Linked DNA regions of Homo sapiens: region 1 is linked to region 2. Evidence: promoter capture Hi-C in human tissues and cell types (Jung and others, 2019). All regions are on one chromosome and are shown on one strand. The core of a region is centred on a gene start or on the middle of the fragment in contact, and the rest is flanking DNA. Distances in the headings are between cores, read along the strand shown. Region 1 overlaps GREM2 (gremlin 2, DAN family BMP antagonist). Region 2 holds the start of GREM2 (gremlin 2, DAN family BMP antagonist).

Evidence for each region. The method cuts DNA at HindIII sites, captures the fragments that hold promoters and counts their contacts. A contact is called where the count stands out against the background at its distance.
Region 1: a contact is called between a fragment that was not itself captured here and the fragment with the promoter of GREM2 in region 2, in 2 of the 25 tissues and cell types used here (H1 embryonic stem cells and adrenal gland).

The regions. Positions count from the first base shown.
Region 1 is chr1:240,549,635-240,553,670 of GRCh38, forward strand. All of the region lies in intron 1 of GREM2 (gremlin 2, DAN family BMP antagonist), which reads right to left. Among named protein-coding and RNA genes, the nearest start is that of GREM2, 61 kb to the right of the region's middle. The HindIII fragment of the contact is 4,298 bases long and covers 1-3,492 here.
Region 2 is chr1:240,610,889-240,614,986 of GRCh38, forward strand. GREM2 (gremlin 2, DAN family BMP antagonist) reads right to left here and starts at 1,267. Exons shown (of 2, transcript NM_022469.4): 1 at 996-1,267. The HindIII fragment of the contact is 18,584 bases long and covers 1-4,098 here.

The DNA.
Region 1 (4,036 bases), core at 94-2,593, 61 kb before region 2:
AGAGGAGCTACAGCTTCTTCTCTGAGATAACACTGAAGAATGAGAGATCCCTGAAGCTACGGTGATGTGCTTGGAGACAGTGAGAAAGATGTGGCTCTGTGTCACACAGAGTTGGCAAGGCAGAAAGGGGAAGGTACAGATCTCCATGTATGAAAAGCAGTGTGGCCATCAGGAGTGGAATCACCTAGAACAGACTCTGTAGGCAAGATAAGGAATGATTAAGGGATGAATTAGAGCCATGAGGTGGGGCATAGACTGTTCAGCCGGTTCCGGCACCTGCTTCTACCATGGATGAGGCAAATAGGAGTAGAAAGGATGGAGGAAGAAGTCAAAAGCTTCTATTATTTATTCGAGGGAATGCCATGTCAGGGGCACCGATTGTTTTTATTTATTTTATTTTTTTTAAGACGGAGTTTCGCTCTTGTTGCCCAGACTGGAGTGCAATGGCGGGATCTCTGCTCACCACAATCTCCCGCCTCCCGGGTTCAAGCGATTCCCCTGCCATAGCCTCCCAAGTAGCTGGGATTACAAGCATGGGCCACCATGCCCGGCCAATTTTGTATTTTTAGTGGAGACGGAGTTTCTCCATGTTGGTAAGGCTGGTCTCAAACTCCCCACCTCAGGTGATCCACCCGCCTCGGCCTCCCAAAGTGCTGGGATTACAGGTGTGAGCCACCGCGCCCAGCCAGGGGCACTGATTACTAGGGGAACTAGCCATTTGCCGAAACCCCCAATTAACTCAGGCGGATTTACAGATTAATGATTTGTTAAAACAAACAAACAAACAAACAAACAAACTCCTGGCACAATGTCCTGCTTTTCTCCAACAATGCTCAGAAGACTCAGTGAATGTGAGTGTGACCCAGGATGGAGGATAGCATAACAAAAGGTAAAATGATCAGATTCTGTGCCGGGGTACTTGGGGAGTAGTGGGGAAACTGAATAGGACACAATGTAGCATCAGTTGTTTTGCATTAAAAATGACAGGTGGAAATAGAACTCTACTAAGTATCTTCAGTAGTCAATTTAGACTCTGATTTTTTGCTTTATAATGACATTTCCTTTTCTATATTCACATTGGCTACTGAGCTGTTGAGACAGTCTGAAAAGATGTAAATATTTTTGTTACAAGTTGACTAATTCAAAATGTCTTTCATTGAATATTGCTATTACGAATGATCAAAAGCAAATATTGTGCTGACATATCCAATCAAATGGACATTGTCAAACATCCTCAGCCTACATCCTTTAAAATACACCCTTCGTTATTTAGACAGATTGCAATTACTGTAGCAAAATCATGAAGACCAGTTAGGATGGAAACTTGGAATTAAAAGGAATAATTTTGAAAAAAGAATCTTTTATGGCCTAAAAGAACTCATTTAAAGTTTTCTATCCTGGGCTAAATATCTCTGGATGTTCTTAAATTTGATTTATACTGTTTTATTCTGAAATTGAGCTGGTTTCTCATCTTCCCCATGCTTTCTGTGGAGCTGATCCAAGCACAGAGTCTACTTGAGTACTGAAATAGCCTCTGCACTTGGATCTTCTCCATGAGGGTTCAAAGTAAGATGAAACACTGGTTCTTGGGAATGGAATGACTGTGGATCTCAAAGCCCTGACATCTGAAAACAAAAATTGATTTGCATGGAAACTGAGTTCAGTGAAAACTACGCATTTTCAGTATAATAGGTTTACCTTGTGTTTTTTTTTGTTTTGTTTTTATTTTTTTGAGATGGAGTCTTGCTCTGTCACCCAGGCTGATGTGCAATGGCGCAATCTCGGCCCACTGCAACTTTCGCCTCCTGGGTTCAAGCAGTTCTCCTGCCTCAGCCTCCTGAGTAGCTGGGACTACAGGCACATGCCACCACACTGGGCTAATTTTTGTATTTGTAGTAGAGACGGGGTTTCACATGTTGGCCAGGCTGGTCTCTAACTCCTGACCTTGGCCTCCCAAAGTGCCGAGACTTCAGGCATGAGCCACCATGCCTGGTCTAGTTTACTTTTTTTTTTTTTAGTTTACCTATTTTCTAAATGAACTATTGAATGAGGTACACTTAAAATGTAAGCACAAATAAGAATGAAAAACCTCACAGAAATAAGATCTTCTGTTTATTTTCTTTCTTTTTGCCTTCTTAAATGCTGAGGCTGGCTTTCAGTGAGGATATTGAGGACAAAAATGTGTTGAATTAATGGAGAAGGGAGGAGGAACCTCAGAAAGTCATAGTTTCTTCAAGAAAGAAGGGATCCTAGAGATTATGCCAACCTTCCTTACAAATTTTATAGAAAGGGAGTGTAAATTCTGCAAATAAGAGGGTGTATCTAAGATTACACCTAATTTTAGTGAATAGCCCAGGACTATGAAGCCAACATTCTCCATTGAACCACAGTGTCTCTCATAAATTTCTCTTACTCTACATACTTCATATACTGGATGACCTTCCATAGAGAACACAGATTTTTCTTGTAGCAGTAATATTACGATCCTTGGGTATAAGTGATGGTGAGATGATACCAAATTCAGTCCTCTGCCTTCAGTAATCAGCTAAATCAAAGACACTCAACTAAAGGAATTTCTTATTGTTTTCTTTGAAAGTCATATCCAGTTTTTAGGGAGCTTTCATTTTCTAAAAAACACATTTCCCTATATAGAAAGACAGTTTTGGCTGGGCACGGAGGCTTGTGCCTGTAATCCCAGTGCTTTGGGAGGCTGAGGTGGGGGGGTCGCTTAAGGCCAGGAGTTTGAGACCAGCCTGGACAACATAGAGTGATGTGGTCTGTACAAAAAAATTAAAAAGTAAACAAGTAAAAATTAGCCAGCCATGGTGGTATATGCTACAGTCCTAGCTGCTTGGGAAGCTGAGATGGGAGGACCGCCTGAGCCCAAGAGTTTGAGATTACAGCGAGCTGTGATCGGGCCACTGCACTCCAGCAGAGCAAGACCCTATCTCTAAAATCGTTTTAAATTGAAAGGCAGTTTTTGCTGGAGCAAGAAAAGCTTTAGGGCAGGTGTCAGGAGATCTGGTCTTGCAGACCTGCTGTCTAGAGGCGAATGCAAGACTCAGCCTTTCTGAACCTCAGATTCATTAGGTATAAATGCAGAATGATAATGTCCTTCTAACCGATTTTGGTGCGGGGATGCATCTTAGAAGATGCTGTACTTGAAAGTTTTTGAAACATGCTGTAAGGTGATAAAACATTAAAACATTCTTTCTAATTATTAAGCTCTTCTTCTCTTGTGTAGTGTTCCATAAATATTAAGAGTAGTTGATCACATCTTAAATATCTGAAGGCTCTTAATCTCATTTTAAGCCTTTCATCCCCTTTCTTTTACATTACTTGCCTGAAGTACCAGGAAAATATCTTTTTAAGAAAGGAATTCAGTGGTATTTCTGGCAGAAACTCTGTATTGGAAATTGTATATGGCAAACTGATCTCAGCATGCTTTGATCAGGGACATCAGAATTCTATCAGAAATCACGAAGACTTTGAAAGAAAACCCAGAATTAAAAGTGAGACAGCTGGTCTTTTCAGACATCGGGTGAAGCTATGCAAAGTCAACGGGTTTTATCGAGAGCGTTAGCATGAGCAGAAGAAAGGTATTTCCAGCCTTATCATTCTATTGCTTACAAGGGGAAGCTAGTCTGAGTGTGGAAAGCTAAGCTATTCTCTGATTCTCTTGCATTTGAGCTATGTTCAGTTTTCAAGATCATAGGGCAAATAATACATGCAATTTTTATTGCCATTTCCTCACTCCCTAAGAGTCAAGTTATACAAATTTCTTTTGATATCCTCACTCATGGTCCCTACATACTCATCAATTGTCAGATGCGTAAAAATCTCAACTCAGCATGAAATATGGATGTTGACACAATATGACAGGTCTCCACATTTAATTAGGCACAAAATCCCATTAACAATCATAGAGAAGCTCACACACTTTAAACAGTTAACACTTCATGTTTAATGCAGTGTGAGGTCTTAAGCTTGCCATGGCTTATTTATATAACGAACACTTCTGAGACCAATTGAAATG
Region 2 (4,098 bases), core at 17-2,516:
TTTTTTAACTGACTTCTTGCAGTCCCCTCTGGCTTTTCCCAGGAAAGACTGAACTCATTAAGCAATGCTAATTTAATCACAAGTCATCAAGGGGTGGGGAGTTATATAACTATCTTTAAAATTTCAAATCAAACATGATAAAATCTCAGGAAATAGATTTTTTTAACAAAACCCACACCTCAAAATAAAAAAAAAAAAGAAATAGAAGTTTATGAGTTTTAGGATCAAATAAAATAAAATCAAACATCAATATTTTCTTACAACTATCACATCTACTAGATAGTTCCAATTCATGACTTTTTAATGTAGTAATATGTGAGATCCTGGAACTGAACGTGCCTGGCGTGCAGAATACAAATGCATTTTTAAACTCGTAAGACAATGTAGAAATAAGTCAGGTACACAGGAAGGATCACTGACAATCACGTTAAAAAATAACTACCTCCCTTCTCTCTTCTCCTTCAACCACAGCGTAGTGATAATAGTGATATTTCCCTCATGAGGCGGGTGCACCTTGGCCATATGCTTTAAAAAATCAAAACTCTGCCGAAGTCCGCTGTGGTTCCTATTCCTGTAGGGAGGATATTAACCTGGTAGGTAGGTGGGAGAGGTTCGTAGCCCGCTTTCTAACAATTGGATGGTGTTTGCCTCGCTATAGTCATGATTAGAATGGCGGTCACCAAGAGGTATTTATTGGTGGGATGACAACATATTGGTATTGACGTTATTTAAAAGAGAAAGAAAGAGCGATCACGGTCAAGTTTGAAGGTCCTTATGTTACACCCACGCATAATTCAATAGGTGAATAAACCTTGTGGCCCCCAGACACACGCCAACAGCTTGAATTACCCGGGGTGAAACCGGCGAGACGTCCACTCAGGGCTTTCGGTCCTGACCAGCCACGGAACAAACAACGTCAATTCATTCTAAGTGCCTGGTGAAGGTAGAAATCAGAAACCGTGTCTGTGTCACGTTAGTCGTGACAAGCTGCGTACCTGCAATGACGTGATGGAAGCCTCCTCCTCGGGTCCCTTCTCTCTCTCTCTCTCCCTCTCCCTCTGCCTTCTCTGAGTTCTCTAGTCCACAGCGGGGTCTAAGTTTGGTCTCCCGCCGCCGCTTTCAGTTCGACCGCAGCCAGACTGCAGCAGACGCCCATAAGAGAAGCGCGCCGGCTGAGGGTGCAGGAGAGGCGAGAGCGCGCCCCGCGCCGCGCGGTCCCAGGCTGGCTGCTCCTGCAGATGTGAAAGGAGCCCGGAGACTTAGCTCTGAATCCTCTCGGCGCTGCATGGGGATATTATCAGAGTCTGGGATTTCTATTGGCTCTGAACACCAAACAAATCACACCAGCCACCCCCCTTCTCTGTTTCACTCAGCGCTTGTTTCTCATCTAACCCACAAACATTGCAGCCACACCACACACTTCAGTCGCTTGCAATGTTTCTCTTTTCCTCCTTCCAGTCAGTGGATTTACAACCCTGTGGTCAGCTCTAACATTTTTTTTAGCAGACTTCCAATTCTAACCTTCTTGTTTATGTAGAGAAATTCTCCCTCCATCCCCTAAACCAGAAAAAAACAAAAAACAAAAAAAAAACACTCATTCCCTTCAGATCTTCTTCCTTTTGCTGATGGGTTTCCAATGTGAAGAATGTAGAAAGCCTGTGTGTGATATGTCTGACATTCTCATACACGTGCGCTTACACACACACACACACACACACACACACACACACCAGGCTCCTTTTGTTTGCAGTAACTGAGGCCAGTGAAATAAAAAGCAAGCTGAGCCTAATAACCTAAGTGAGAGCTTAACTAATAAAATCTTGAATGAATTCAGTGCAAAACACCCATTGCTTGAATTTGTTTTCTGTTCCAAATAGTACTTTGGTCATTATTATCCTGATTTTTGTTTATTGAATGCAGAGGTTTCTAATGCAAATCAGACTCTTCAACATCCAGAGAACATAAAACAATGACGCCAGACCAATTCTTGTGCTCCATCGGCTTGGTGCGTTATACCAGAAGCGTATTGTGACGCCTAAGTGCTTGCTCTTTTCATTATTTTTTGAACTTCTCACCACTGATCATCTCAGGACTGAGACTCCCTTAGTGTGATTCACCAGCCAAAGACGACTATTCAGACTCTGCTGATAGAGGTTCCTGGATGAAAATTTTTTATCTGTATGTGTCAATAGAGATAAACCTTTGGCCCCTTGGCAGGGAAAGGGCCCAAGAAAAATCTGAGATCTTACAAACTTGGCTGGGGAAATTCAGAATAAAATAAAGTTTCAGTGTGTCTTATAAAACAGACCCTCCCTTAGACTTTTCCCCAAAATCAATTTCACTGGTGCTTATGGAAATTTTAATGACAGTTATTCTTGACAAGAAGCCATTGCTTCTGAAATCTCTGAGCTCTGTTTTGATTTTTGACTTGAATTTTTTTTTTGCAGTGTTATCCCTTTTGTATGCTATTTGGTATTTGATATTCTAGTTCCAACTCAACTCACAGCACATTGGGTTGCAAATTCACAGGAAATAACAATTAGTTCTTGAAATATACTATCACCAAACAGACTACCTGCCTTCTTTCTTACGTGGGCACATTACAGGAATTGTGAAATGCAGCCTTATTCTCAGAATGGGCCTGCCTGAAATCAGCTGAAATTGACAAAGGAAATACAAAACAAAACCACGTTTAGCAGTTGGTTCCTGCTAACCACAGTCTAACCTCAAATGGCATATCCTTATTGCTTCAACAACTCCAGTTCATTCCCTTTCTTTAGGTAGGCAGCTAAAAACAAAATACTGTCATAAATCTTTGAAAGTGTAGAATGTATTTCTTCTAAAGATCTCAACAGTCTTCGAAAAAAAAAGGAGTTATAGGTATGATATTCCAGATTTTCCAGGTGGAGAAACAGAGTGGAGGAATGATAAAGTGACTTGCTGAAGGCAGACAGCAAATAGAGCTGGGAGAGTGGATGACTGCCCTGTTTGTTCATACAAACTGTTTGACTCAAAGGAAAGCAAAGGGTTAACACAGCTGACTCTCATTCCTGCCTGCCTTTGCACAGAAGAGCTAACAATTCATGAAATCATCTGTCCAACTTGGTAAATAGTCATTTATGTTATTTCAGAACGGGTCATGTTATTTTCAGATAAGTTACCAATAATTTGCCTTCGAATTGCCTTTCTAGAAAAGAGAGAAACAGTTACTGAGAAAACCAAGTAGATCATTGTATTTTGTGCTTGTTATTTTCAGGGCTCATTATAGCTCTTCATAGCACTGAAAAGACAGTGTAAGTGAAATCATGGGTGACTTAAAGTCACAGATCTATCTTAAACTTCATTTTAGATAATAATTCAAGCCCTCTGTCCTTCAGTTAATGAAGAGCAAAACTGGATGATTTAAAGGACATCTATACCCCATCAGTTGTGTGGTTAAGGGAAAATAAATCGTCAGTGTTTATTATTCTATATTTAGTCTTTTCGTCATTTTGCTACCTTTAAAAGAGTTTTTCAAAGACATTTCTTAAATCCTTTATAAATGACACAGACATCCGTAATAATAAAAACGCTTGCATCTCAGCATGCACAGCAGCGGACAGCCGGGCAGATTCATGACAGAACAATCATTTTATTTTCCACTTATTCAGCCACATCAGGATCATCCTGCTTAGTTCAGTGTGGCACTTTTTACAGGAGATATTCACAAATTGGCATGTATCCAAAGGAGTTGATAAGATGATGATTCTGAATATTATAATTTATAAGAGATGCAAGAGAGAATCAGGCATCTTGGAGTAGGAACTGAGGTGAAAATGATAACATTTTCAAACAGTAAAGGTAAAAGAGGAAATATGTTTATTATTCAGATAATGCTTCAAATGTATTGTCATTTTTATAAACATTTTCTTTCTTGATTTTTTTAAACAACTCTATGAGGAATGTAAGATAAATGCTACTAGGCTAATTTTAGAGATTAAAAGAGTTTGTATAGTAAAGTCACCCTGATGTAGTCACAGTTACGATGCCAGAGGATGGGAATAAGTTGAAGTGGACCCGAAACCCAGTGCTGTTCTGGAGAGAAAATAAGGGTAGGCA